3 separate regions of the Homo sapiens genome follow, and regions 2 and 3 are each linked to region 1. The links are contacts of gene promoters, found by promoter capture Hi-C in human tissues and cell types (Jung and others, 2019). All regions are on one chromosome and are shown on one strand. Each heading gives the region's core, a stretch centred on a gene start or on the middle of the fragment in contact. The rest is flanking DNA. Distances are from core to core; before and after follow the strand shown.

What was found. Contacts are between HindIII fragments. The study calls those that stand out against the background at their distance.
Region 2: a fragment that was not itself captured here is called in contact with the fragment with the promoter of F10 in region 1 in 1 of the 25 tissues and cell types used here (spleen).
Region 3: a fragment that was not itself captured here is called in contact with the fragment with the promoter of F10 in region 1 in 2 of the 25 tissues and cell types used here (dorsolateral prefrontal cortex and psoas muscle).

What each region holds. Positions count from the first base shown.
Region 1 is chr13:113,120,578-113,124,863 of GRCh38, forward strand. It overlaps F10 (coagulation factor X), which reads left to right and starts at 2,222. Exons shown (of 8, transcript NM_000504.4): 1 at 2,222-2,348. The coding sequence starts at 2,279. It overlaps F7 (coagulation factor VII), which reads left to right. Exons shown (of 8, transcript NM_019616.4): 8 at 1-108. The HindIII fragment of the contact is 14,274 bases long and covers 1-4,286 here.
Region 2 is chr13:113,069,317-113,073,679 of GRCh38, forward strand. It overlaps MCF2L (MCF.2 cell line derived transforming sequence like), which reads left to right. Exons shown (of 30, transcript NM_001112732.3): 9 at 743-857. Among named protein-coding and RNA genes, the nearest start is that of F7, 34 kb to the right of the region's middle. The HindIII fragment of the contact is 7,663 bases long and covers 1-4,363 here.
Region 3 is chr13:113,176,802-113,181,112 of GRCh38, forward strand. It overlaps PCID2 (PCI domain containing 2), which reads right to left. Exons shown (of 14, transcript NM_001127202.4): 11 at 3,357-3,430; 12 at 3,116-3,241; 13 at 2,165-2,288; 14 at 735-1,486. The coding sequence ends at 1,397. Among named protein-coding and RNA genes, the nearest start is that of PROZ, 20 kb to the left of the region's middle. The HindIII fragment of the contact is 4,578 bases long and covers 657-4,311 here.

The DNA of each region.
Region 1 (4,286 bases), core at 972-3,471:
CACTCAGGCATCATCTACTTCAGAGCAGACAGGGTCTATGAACTACAGCCGTGGGCTGCTTCCAAGGCACCCTGCTCTTGTAAATAAAGTTTTATGGGAACACACCCATATTAGTGTCCATGGAGTGGCCGTGGCAGAGACGTCCAGCCGGACAGACCAGCTGACCCGCCAAGCCCAGCATGGTTAGTGTCAGGACCTCTGCTGAAGATGCTTGCTGACCCTGGCCAGACCCCGGTTCCTAATGCCCCCTAAACGGGACGGGAGCCAGTGGCGGGCCCTGATCCAGGTCAGAGCTGGCTCTGCTTTCTCTTTTGTCCGAGTGACCATGCCTCAGTTTCCTCATGTGTAAAACAGGAGCCCACCGTGATGCTTATGGTGGGATGAGATCAGCATGGATGGAACAAGGCCCTGGAAGGGCCCATGCCATGGTCATCGACAGCAAAGCCACTCTGCAGACAGATGCTTCAGTGAATTGGTAGAAAATTCTGCAACCAGAATGCCCGGGGCTCCTGAGGGCCTAAGCCCAGCCCAGGGTTCTGGAAGCCACTCTGACTTCTTGGGAGTGGAAGTTGGCAGGACTCTTCCTGGGAAGAAGCGGAGGGTGGGGATGAGAGGACAGTTCAGGAGCCCACCCAGACCCACAGGAGGAAACTAGGGGAGTCATGCGGGGTCCTGGTGGAGCGCCAGCCTCCCTTCCTGCCAATGGGAAATGCAGGCGCCCACCTCATGGTGCTGCCGGAGGAGGGGGCCCGGGACTCCCCAGAGGCTTCGCTGAAGGGCCTGGGCGCCCCCAAAGGCTACATGTTTCATATGGGACGTGCCACCTGCCACGGCTCAGCTCCAGCTTTCTGTGAGTGGCGAGATAGAATACGGGGAGGCCACTGGCCATGGGCCTGGGACAGGGTGGGATGAGGCGGCAGGCTTGGGCCACCAAAGCCAGCATCGCCACCCAGCATTGATGACAAAGACTGCGTGTCTGCCATGAGCATCCTGCTGTTGGTGCACACACCGCATTGGTCTCTCCATACAAACATGCCTAGAGGCGATGTCAGAGGGTGGAGACCAGGAGAGGCAGGAGTCAGACATCTGGTGCCACCAGGAAGGCCCTTCTCAGAGGACCAGGCTGTGCGTGGTGCCCGCCGTGGGAGGCCAGCCTGGCGTTGGCATCCAGCATCATCAGTTTGTGCAGTCGGGTGGGGCTCAGTGAGTGCCTCCTGTGTGCCAGGCACAATGACGCACAATGTGTGCACACCAGGCTCATGTGCAGGTGGCTGCGAGACAGGGCGACCCATCAAGGCAGATGCACCATGAGGCAGTGGCCAGTGCTGTGGGTGTTAGGGGCATTGCTCCCCGGCCACTACGGCATAGCAGGCAGTGATCGCCACACTGGCCAAGCTTTAGACCATTTATTCCAGAGACCCCAGAGGCAAAAAGCCCGGCTGCACCTCCCAGTGACTCCCACAGCCATTGAGCAGAGACACTCAGGACCTTGTGATGGGAGGTTTCTGCACTGGAGAACGAGCCCAGAAGCCCTCTCAGCCTCGGAACAGTGTGGCCAGTGGTGGGCAGGTCAGGAGGGGCTTCAGACACAGCCTGTCCCTCCAGATGGTCACGGGAAGGTCACTCCCCACAGAAGTACGTTTTGGGGCCATGCGGGCACAGAAGGTTTGGGGGTGGGTGGGGCAGGTGCCAGCCTGGCCTGTGGGAGGCCATGGTGCAGATGCCAAGCCCCCCCCGTGACATGAGACCACCTGATACCACCCAGAGAGTGGCTGTGAGCGGAAGGGCCCGCCCAGAAACAAGCAGGGCCTTGGGGCAGAAGTCCTGGGCTCAGATCCCACGCTCACTGCCAGCGGCCTCGGCTCAGGCTTCTGCGCTCTCTAAACTTAGTTTTCTCTTCTGGAAAAATGATGGGGAAAATGATATTTGTATGTGAGGACTGAGAGTTAAATGTAAACATCTGGAAACTACAAAATGAGCACGAAATGATGTTTTTATTCTTAGAACAGAAAGTCCCCACACCCGCGGCCCTGGTGACTGATGAGGATGAGGTTCTGCGGGGCCTCTCTGGCCGCCCAGCTCTGCCTGGGGAAGGTGGGGCCAGAGTGGATGTGTTCCCAGCGTGGTCACTCCCCTGCCTCGCCAGCAGGTCTCGGCTCCAATCAGGAGGCCTAAGCCAAGTGATAAGCAGCCAGACAACAGCCATCCCAGCTGGGGCGTGGACTTTGCTCCAGCAGCCTGTCCCAGTGAGGACAGGGACACAGTACTCGGCCACACCATGGGGCGCCCACTGCACCTCGTCCTGCTCAGTGCCTCCCTGGCTGGCCTCCTGCTGCTCGGGGAAAGTCGTAAGTGCCCCTCGCCCTTCAGACCCAAAAGCAGCGCCAGGGAGCAGGGAGGGGCGGCAGTTGGGGAAACCCTCTCATCTCTGCAGCCTGGACGGTGGGTGCCTTGAGTGCTGCCAGAGGCTGGGCTCGGATGGCTGGGCTTGGCCTTTCCAGCCAACGGCATCCTCAAGGCCAGCTGTGGCTCCCTGGGGCTGAGAGTCAGACGGGCGGATCAGAGGTCACAGAGACAAAAACACAAGGACAGAGTCAGAGAGAGAAAGGGAGAGGGAAGGAGAAACGGAGACACAGTGAGATGGGAGGCCAAGAGGCAGAGACAGAGGTAGAAAGACGGAGACAGAGAGAGAGGGAGGGGTTGGGGCAGGCAGAGACAGGACAGTTAGCCATCTGCCACCACAGGGAGGCACAGGACGAGGGGCACAGCAGAGGAGCTCCCAGGGAGGAGGAGGCTGAGCCGAGCCAGTGCCACCACTCTCGGACTGGCTCCGTCGGGGAAGGAGCTGCCTAATGCACAGCTGGACAGGTGGGGGCAGCAGGGCTGTCCAGGACCCCCGGGTCTGTCCAAAAGCAGAGGCCCAGACAGGACAGAAGCCAGGCAAGCCTGGGGACAGCGGAGGAAGAGGAGGCCCCTCTGGTGGGGACACGAGAGACAGGGACCCTAGACTTGTTTGCATCCTGGACAAAGTGGACAGGCAGGGGCACCAAGGGGACCCAGGCCTGGGAAGGGAATGTGTGAGGGAGAGACGGAGCAGGGGGAGACCCTCGTGGGGTGGAAAGGGGAGACCCCTGGGAAGGCTGAGTGGATCCTCAGTGCATCACTGACCTAAACGGCCCCTCCGCCTGGTGACTTGGAGCTCCAGTCACATCACACGGGGGTCTTCTCCATCCCACCCTCAACCCCCTGCCCTCCCCAGCCTCTGTCCCCTGAGCCACATCTTCCTGTCTCCCACGCGGAACGGGACTCCCGTCTTCATGGGGTACTGTGTGGCTCCAACTCGCCCAGCCTTCTTCCTCCCCCTCAGGCCACACTGCCCCCTGCAGGAGCCCACTGTGATGCTTGTGGTGGGATGAGATCAGCGTGGGTGGAACAAGGCCCTGGAAGGACCCATGCCATCATCATCGACAGCAAAGCTACTCTGCAAACAGACAGATGCTTCCGCGAATTGGTAGAAAATTCTGCAGCCGGAATGCTCTAGGATCCTGAGGCCCTAAGCCCGGCCCGGGGCTCCCGAGGCCCTAAGCCCGGCCCGGGACTCTGGAAGCTGCTCTGGCTTATTGGGAATGGAAGTTGGCAGGACTCCTCTTCCTGGGAAGAAGCAGAGGGTGGGGATGAGAAGACAGGCCAGGAGCCCACCCAGACCCACAGGAGGAAACTAGGGGAGTTATGCAGAGTCCTGGTGGAGCGCCAGCTTCCCTTCCTGCCAATGGGAAATGCAGGCGCCCACCTCGCGGACCTCTGGGTCCACAGGGTATTGGCACCCTTAGCTGTGTGATGCGGGCCTGGCTCATAACCATGGCCTGTGGTGTCCCCGGGGGCCGGCCTGGACCCTGGGTGGACATGGCCAGCCCCGGAGAGCCAGGGCCAGGCCATCTCTCTCCCCTACTCTGCCTCAGAGGCCTCGGCAGCTGCACTGTGGGGTGGGTGGGGCTGAACACAGGTCCCAGAAGGTCCCACTCAGGACCCTGCTGTGCACACTTTTGATTTTAATAAAATCAGAATGCGCACAGCATCTGCAGTCTAGCCTTTAAACGAGCACAGCTGTCCTGGCAGTCACGGAAGTTCTTCTGGGGCGGTGGGACCTCAGCATTCCTTTGCTGGTACTGCTACAAGAAAGGACAATGGACCAAGTAGCTTAAAGCAACAGAAACATTTCTCCCACAGCTCTGGAGGCTGGAAGTTCAAAATCAAGGCGTCAGCGGGGCTGGTTCCTCCAGAGGCTG
Region 2 (4,363 bases), core at 228-2,727, 52 kb before region 1:
TACGCAGAGGCAGAGGTCGCAGTGAGCCGAGATTGCACCTGGGTGGTGCACAGCTGGAGTGCCAGCTACGCGGAGGCAGAGGTCGCAGTGAGCCGAGATTGCACCTGGGTGGTGCACAGCTGGAGTCCCAGCTACTCGGAGGCAGAGGTCGCAGTGAGCCGAGATTGCACCTGGGTGGTGCACAGCTGGAGTCCCAGCTACGCGGAGGCAGAGGTCGCAGTGAGCCGAGATTGCACCTGGGTGGTGCACAGCTGGAGTCCCAGCTACGTGGAGGCAGAGGTCGCAGTGAGCCGAGATTGCACCTGGGTGGTGCACAGCTGGAGTCCCAGCTACGCGGAGGCAGAGGTTGCAGTGAGCCGAGACTGCACCACTGCACCCAGCCCAGGTGATGGAACCAGACCCTATCTCAAAAAATAAATTTTAAAAAAAGTTTTTAAACTTTTAAAAAATAAAAATGAACAAACTCGGCGGCTCAGCCTAGTCGCAGTGACCTAGAGGGAGAGAAGCAGGAAGGAAAGGACACAGCCCCTGATGCTTTCTCCAGGGCCTCCCTCCCATGCTGACGGCCCTGAGTGCCCGCGCCCGCAGATCCCAGGTTTAGGTGCAGGGAGTGAGCGGAGGCCAGGATCTCAGGAAGGCCCGGGGTGGAGATGAGCCTTGGGGTCGCTTGAACACCCACCGCGCTCCACGTTGCATGGGGCGCCGTGGGCCACACAGACGGTCAACTCCTCCTCTTTCCCAGGCTCCTGGCCCAGCTGAACGAAACCGAGGCTGCCTTCGATGAGTTCTGGGCAAAGCATCAGCAGAAACTGGAGCAGTGTCTGCAGCTCCGGCACTTTGAGCAGGGCTTCCGGGAGGTGAGTGGCCCTGGGTGGAGCCGGCAGCCGCCCTGATGCTCACGGGGCCTCCTGTGCCTGCGCCCTGGTCCCAGTGCCGGGAGCTGAGCCGTGCCACCCAGTTGACTTTGGCTTAATGCAGAAAAGTCTCCGCTTGCCAGGTGGAGCCTGTGAGATTAAGTCAGGCTGAGCCTTGAAATGCACGATTGATGACTGCGTCATTGTATAGAAAGGTGATTGAAAATCAGCTCACTGGGATGCACTTACACTGCATTATTCGTAAAGTAGCAGGAAGCCTTTGCTCTCCCTTCATAGTCATTTGCATGCCCTTTTATTCAACATGCATGTAGGATGTGCCTGCTGTGTGCCAGACTGTAGGACGGCGTCACAGTCATGAGGTGCACAGCGACACGGCCAGTGCAGCCAGACCCAGACGTCTCCCTCCTGCGGCCCTTCGTGGACTCACCCATGTCCCTCCTCAGCCCCCGGCAACCACTCATCTGTTTCCGTGGCTGTGCTTTTGCCATTTCAAGAATGTGACATTAATGAATCCCACAGAATGTCACTCTCGGGATTTGTTTGTTTGCTCAGCACAGCTCTCTGCAGACCCCCAGGTGCCGGTGGCTCACTCATTGTGTTCCCCGGTGTGGACGGACCACAGTTCTTTCAATCATTCACCTGTTGAAGGGTATCTGGGTTGTTTCCGGATTTGAGTATTACAGATAAAGCTGTTACAAACATTGATATACTGATGTTGGTGTAAATGTAAGTTTTCATTTCTTGGGCTTAAGTGCCCAGAATGTAATTGCAGGGTTATATAGTAGTTGCATGTTTCGTTTAAGAAAATGCCAAACGGTTCTCAGTGTATGAGAGACTAGTTGCTTCCCCTTTCCCCAGCACGTGGTGGGGTAGTGATTCTTCATATTATGCTCACATCCTGATGTGTGTGCCATCTCACGGTGGTTTTCTGTTGCGTTTCCCCAGTGTTGATGGTGCTAAACACCTTTCCACGTGCTTATTTGCCATTCGCATATCCTCTTTGGTAAAATGTCTTATTTCTGTTGCCCATTTTCTAACTGGATTGTTTGGTTTTGTGCTTTTGTTTTACGGTTTTGTTACATTTTGAGAATTCCTTATATACTGCAGATACTAGTTCTTTGCCACATATGTGGTTTGCGAATATTTTCTCCTGGTCTGTAACTTGTCTTTTCATCCTCTTTAACAGGGTTTTTCACGTAGCCAAAGCATTTAATTTTGACGAACTCCAATTTGTCAATTTCTCCTTTTAAGGTTTATACTTTTGGTCCTAGATTCCAAGTATATTCCCCTAAGCCTTTTTCCCCTCAAATTTCATAGTTTTACATTGAAGTCTATGACCTAATTTGAGCTAATTTTTGTATAAGGTATGAGAATTAGATCATGATTTGTTTTACCTCTGGATGTCCAATTGCTGTAGCACTGTTTGTTGAAAAGGCCCTTTCTTCCACTGGATTTCTTCTCCACCGTTGTCAAAGCTCTGGGCACATTTGTGTGGGTCTGTTCTGGAGACTCTCTATTCAATTATGTTTATCTACATACCTCTTCCTCTGTCTGTACCACAAGGTCTTAATTGCTGCAACTATATAATGTCTTGAAATCAAGTACACTCATTCTTCCCTCTTTGTTTTCTTTTTCAAAATTGTGTTAGCTTCTAGTTCTTTTGCCTTTTCATGGCAATTTTAAAATTATCTTGTCTACATATATGAAAACAAATTTCCTGGGGTTTTCATAGGAGTTGTGTTAAACCTATATTTTAAGGAGAAGAAATGTCTTTACTGTGTTGACTCTTCTAGTCAACAAACATGGTATTCCCAACATTTGATTTCTTTCATCAGTGTCGAGTAGTTCTCAGCACACAAGTTCAGTACGTATTTTGTTTGACTTACCTTTAATATTCCACTTTAAGAAGTCATCACAGTATTATATTTTTAATTTTGGCATTTATGTATTCATTGCTGCACATAGAAACACAATTGATTTTTGTATATTTATCTTGTCTCCTGCGACCTTGCTGAGCACACGTATTTGAGATGGTTTTTTGTGAAGTCCTTGACATTTTCCATATAGACCATCATGTCATGTGCAAATAAGGACAGTTTGGTTTCTTCCTTTTTGAAGATATGCCTTTTATTCTACCCCCCACCCACAACACCCTGCCCCACTGCGTACTGCCCCAACTAGAGCTTCCACCATATGATAAGAGTGGCGAGACTGGACATCTCTGCTTTGTCCCCAACCTTAGGAGGAAAGTGTTTAGTTTTTCACTGTCAGGTGTAATGTTAGTTGTAGGATTCTTGTAGATGCTCAATAAAACTATCTGGGCCTAGAGATTTCTTTGGGAGACTTTTAAAATTATGAATTCAGTGTCCTTAATAGTTACGCAACTATTGAAACTATCTGTTTCACAATGAGATATAGTAGTGTGCTTTTCAAGGCAATGTGTAGGGTTGTTTATAGTATTCTTTCTTATCTTTTTGACGTCTGCAGGGTCTGTAGTGATATTCCCTGTTTCATTTCTGATATTTGTAATTTGCATCTTTTCCTTTTTTCTTTGTCAATCTAGATTGAGATGTATCACTCCTCATCTTTCCAAAGAACTCGTTCTTTGTTTCATTAGTTTTCTCTGTTGTTTTCTGTTCTCAGTTTCATTGATTTCTGATCCTACCTTTATTATTTCTACAAATTGCTTTGGTGGGAACTTACATTCTTTATTTGAGACTGTTCCTCTTTTCTAACATACATATTTAATAAGAACACTATAAATTTCCCTCTCATCACTGATTTAGCTGTGTTCCACAAATTTTGATGTATTGTATTTTCTTTTTCATTTACTCCAGCTTTTTTTTTTTTTTTTTCCAATTTCCCTTGGAACTTCCTCTTTGACCCATCCATTCTTTAAATGTATGTTGTTTGGCTTCCAGTGTTCAGAGATTTTCCCGTTGTCTTTCCATTCTTGATTTCAAGTTTGATTCATTGTAATCAGAGAACATACTCTGTATGATTTCTGTTCTTATAAATGTGTTGAGATTTGTTTTGCAGCCCAAGAATATGGTCTTTCTTGGTATATGTTCCTCACTTGAAAAGAATGTGTATTCTGCTATTGTTAGGTGAAGTTTTATACATATCAGTTAGATCCTGTTGGTTGATGGTATTGAGTTCTTCTATATCCGAGCTAGTTTCTGAGAGGTGGTGCATTATCCATAACTCAGTGGCTGTGCGTAACATGGAGAGAAGTCTCACTCATCAGCTGTGCCAGATGCAGGGGGTTCAAGGATGGACAAGAATCCTGCCTTCCTGGCCTTCAACCCCAGGCCATCTGAACTACAACCCCCTTGGCACTGGGATGTCTGCGTACACACCCATTCTCAGGATCATTTCCAATAACAAAAATTAAAAGCTTTTGTATTTAAAGGAATAAGTGGTCATATGTTTTAAAAATCAGGCCAGGCATGGTGGCTCACACCTGTAATCCCAGCACTGTGGGAGGC
Region 3 (4,311 bases), core at 1,696-4,195, 57 kb after region 1:
CTAGCACAGCAAGAATACCACCTTATTCTTAAGTGTGCAACTCAGAAGAGAGCCCTCCCCAGAAGCCGACCGTGCTGGCAACCCCATCTCAGTCAGACCTCCAGCCTCTAGAACTGTGAGGAAATACATTCCTGTTGCTTAAGCTGCCTGTGGTATTCTGTGATGGCAGCCCCAACAGCCCAATGTGAGTGGCCCAACTTAGCGACTGTCAACCTCGCCGTGGTGCCGAAGGGACGCGCTCAGGGGCAGCCATGCCTCAGCGTCCACGCAGCCCTTCAGTTTCCACTCTCAGTGTAGCACTCGGTAAGCTACACGAGGTATTTACACTTTTATTTTTATTTATTTATTTTTTTGAGACAGAGTTTCGCTCTTGTTGCCCAGGCTGGAGTGCAATGGCATGATCTCGGCTCACTGCAACCTTTGCCTCCCGGGTTCAAGCGATTCTCCTGCCTCAGCCTCCTGAGTAGCTGGAATTACAGGTATGCGCCACCACGCCCGGCTAATTTTGTATTTTTAGTAGAGACGGGGTTTCTCCATGTTGGTCAGGCTGGTCTCCAACTCTCAATCTCAGGTGATCTGCCTGCCTTGGCCTCTGAAAGTGCTGGGATTACAGGCGTGAGCCACCACGCCCGGCATCTACACTTTATTATAAAATAAAATCGGCTTTGTGTTTGATTTTGCCTAAGAGTGGAGGCTTCTGAGTATGTTAAGGAAGGCTAGAGTGAGCCATAATGTTTAGTAGCAGGTGTATTAAATGTATTTTCAATTTAAGATGGTTTTTTAAAAGAAATTTTTTTTTAACCAACAAAGCAAAGGCAAATAAAATAAGTTTATTGGGATGTAACCCTATCATAAATTGAGGAGCATCCATACAGGCAAGCTATAAAATCTGGAAAATTTAAATCAAATTAAATTCTGCTTTTAAAAAGGTGCCTTAAGTTAACCAAGCATTTTGATAACACATTCAAATTTAATATATAAAAATAGATGTATCCTGGAAGATATAATGAAGAACATGCCATGTGTATAAATTCAGAATACGCTTTTTACACAAAGAACTACAAAAAGTTACAAAGACAGCCTTCAGGAACCACACTTAGGAAAAGTGAGCCGAGCAGCCTTCACGCAAAGCCTCCTTCAAAGAAGTCTCACAAAGACTCCAGAACCAGCCGAGTCTGTGAAAAAGGAATTCCAGGTTTTCATCAGGCTGAAATTAGTTACAAATGAAGGAGATTAACTCGGGTGTGCTGAAAATCTCAGCCTCAGCATCCCTGGGAAAAGCGCCTCCAAGAGTTCCGGCTTCAGGGAGCCTTGTTGCAGTACCGGACCGGTCTCATCAGCACAACCAAAGTGGAAAGAAACAACTGCTCACCCGTCCTCGGGGCTCCGTGTACTTTCAACACACCGTGGACAGGGGAGGAAATGGGTTCTGCTTGCTGACCACCAGCTTCTGATGCTGATGCGATATGTAGCCTTTGACGTGTCCCTGCGGGGCAGAAAGGGAGGAATGCGTTTACATTTTTGGATCTGAGTCATGTCAAAGATGCTGGGTGATCTAATTAATTTGGCATTAGCATTCTTCCCCAAGAGCGGCACAGTTCAGTTCAGCGGGAAGACAATGAGTAAAAATAAATACAATCAACCCTCTATATCCACGGTGGGTTTCATATCCATGAATCTAACCAACTGTGGACTGAAAATATTTGGGGAAAAAAAATGCATCTGTAATGAACACGTACAGACGCTCTTCCCTTGCCGTGATTCCCTAAACAATACAGTACAACAGCTATCTACAGTGCACTGAGTATTTTAAGTAACCTAGAGATAATTTAAAGTATACAGGAGGACGTGCATAGCTCATATGCAAATACTACGTCCTATCAGTGACTGAAGCACCTGTGGATTTTGGTATCCGAGGGGGGTTGGAGAATCGACAGATACCGAGGGATGTACCGCCAGTAAAGAATATGCAAACATACAAGAGTATCCGTCCCCTCATGCTCCTAAGGCCCTGGTGAATGGTATTTCCTGGGCTAAAATTAGTTCTATCAAAAAAAAAGCAGAAGGCCTTTTAACAATTTTAACACCACCACACTGAAGCTTCAAATTCTGGGCTGAATCTTGCTGTGAGTAGCTGCTTAAATTAAAACCAGGACTCACACACCATGTATATCAAGTTAGCCAGAATACACTGAACTTCGTCAATGTCCACGTCCTCCACCTGCATGAACTTCAAGGCAACCAGAAAAGCATCCAGAGACAGCTGGTGTGTTTTCAGTAACAAATACCTGGAAGAGGGGAGGAGAAGGGCACTGTGGTTACCGACAGGATGCAATACTCCACAGCCAAGAAAAGGCACCTCTTAATAAGCCGGTGTTCTAAAGGAGTAAAAAAATTCCCACCTATTAGATAAACTCTAAACTACACTCTCAGAGCTATTAAATCTAATTTGACTTTTCAATCTTTAAAAAGTCACTAGTACAAACACAATTTTTAATTATTTTCTAAGTATTTCATTAAGGTTCGGTTTTTTTTTTCACATTTTAATCTCCCTGAAATCAGGAAGCACCTGACAATGGGCTGTGTCTCACAGACTCAGCGAAATAGGGTCCCTACTGTTTGTGACGTGCTACCCACAGCTCTATACAAAGTTGGCCTTTGCCTGAAGTTTACACAACTGAGATCCTGCTGGGACGAGGCCTCAGAAGACGTGTGAGGAAAGGAATGACGATCTCTGCATCTGCCTTTGTGACAGGCAGAAGTGGCTGGGAGGGCTACTTGGTCAGCACTAAGGGAGGGGAGTGAGTGGCGAGTCCTGTGTGCTCTGATGAAATGTGGTACCGCGGCTCTCAGGGCTGATGTTCTCAAGTTGTCTTCTCACATAGAACCTGCTTACCTCCCCCACAAGTCCAGGCACAGCTTGTGCTACTCACGTGTCTCGCGCAGGGTCCCCAGGAGGCAGTGGGCGGAGGCTTCATTTTATCCCACACAATGGAAGGAAGATAACGACCCCACCCACACGGTGGCCTTCTCTCTTAGACTGCAACAGCCCTGGATGTCTGACTGCTCTGCCGAGAGCCACACTGGGAGCCCAATGTGCCGGGGAAATGCTTACACTTTCTTAAAGAGGTTCCTGTAGGTGATGATCTTCAGCTTCTCCAGGATGAGGAAGATTCCGCAGCGAATGAAGAAGGCCTCGTGCTTCGCCAGCGCCTCGTGCAGCAGCAGCAGGTTGCCCTCGCTGGTGAGGGGGGAGGCGCGTCAGAAGGAGGGTGAGTTTCTCACAGAGCGTGCACGTCAACTCTCATCAGGCTTGCATTTTTAAAACCCCAAACAGGAAGGATGGCATACTCTACCTCACAGCTCTGGTTACTTCCGCAAACTGCATCAGGTGATACTTTTTCAGGAGCTCCACAGTGGGCATGTGACCCTAAGAGTCAATTTTCCAGAATGAAAATGCTTTCATTTTTGACAAAATTGTCCTTGATAAATATTCATATCAAGGAATTAAGTTTTAAGAAAATTGCAACCTGAGTTTCTTAGAATGTCCATGGATTAAACACATCATAGTACACTAGGAAAACAACACAGGTCTAGAAATCAGAACACCTGGGTACAACACACTTTTGTCATTCCATGACACGTGACCTTGATCTTGACCTTCTCACATTTCTTCGAATTTCTATAACAGGAGAGTGATAACTGAAGAAATGCTAGTATAAGCATGAGATGTAGGCATACGGAAGTAGCTTCCAGAAGAATCAGCTAAGCATTTGAAACTGGCTGTCAGTTAAATGGGGTGAGAAGTGAGGAGGGCAAGGCCACAGCAGCGCTTCTCCATCACAATCCATTCAGAGCTACAGAAGCTTTAGCCACCTGTGTGCAATGCTTTTCTCATTAGTCAATTAACTTACCAGTTATTTCAAGTATCAAAAATACATTTTAGTAACTAAATGAAATACCCACAGAGAGGGTGAAATGACATTTTTCTTTCTTGGTGAATCCACTGCTTTTAACTTAGGTTTTAAGGGAGGAATACAAATGATACGTACTTATTTTGTCACATGAACGTTAAACTCTTGAGTTAAATACTTTTAAGGGAAACAAGACACAGGGAGAGCTTTTCTAGAAGGACCTGGAGGCGTAAGGCATGAAGCTCTGGGTTTGGGCCACACACAATGCATGCGCCTTCTTTATTTTGGGGTGTGCTCATACACAGCTCAGGCTGTGATCAACTACAGACTGTCTGCTAGGTTTTAAAAAAACCTATCAGCTGTCAACTTTGTGAAAGCACCAGGATCTATAAACATG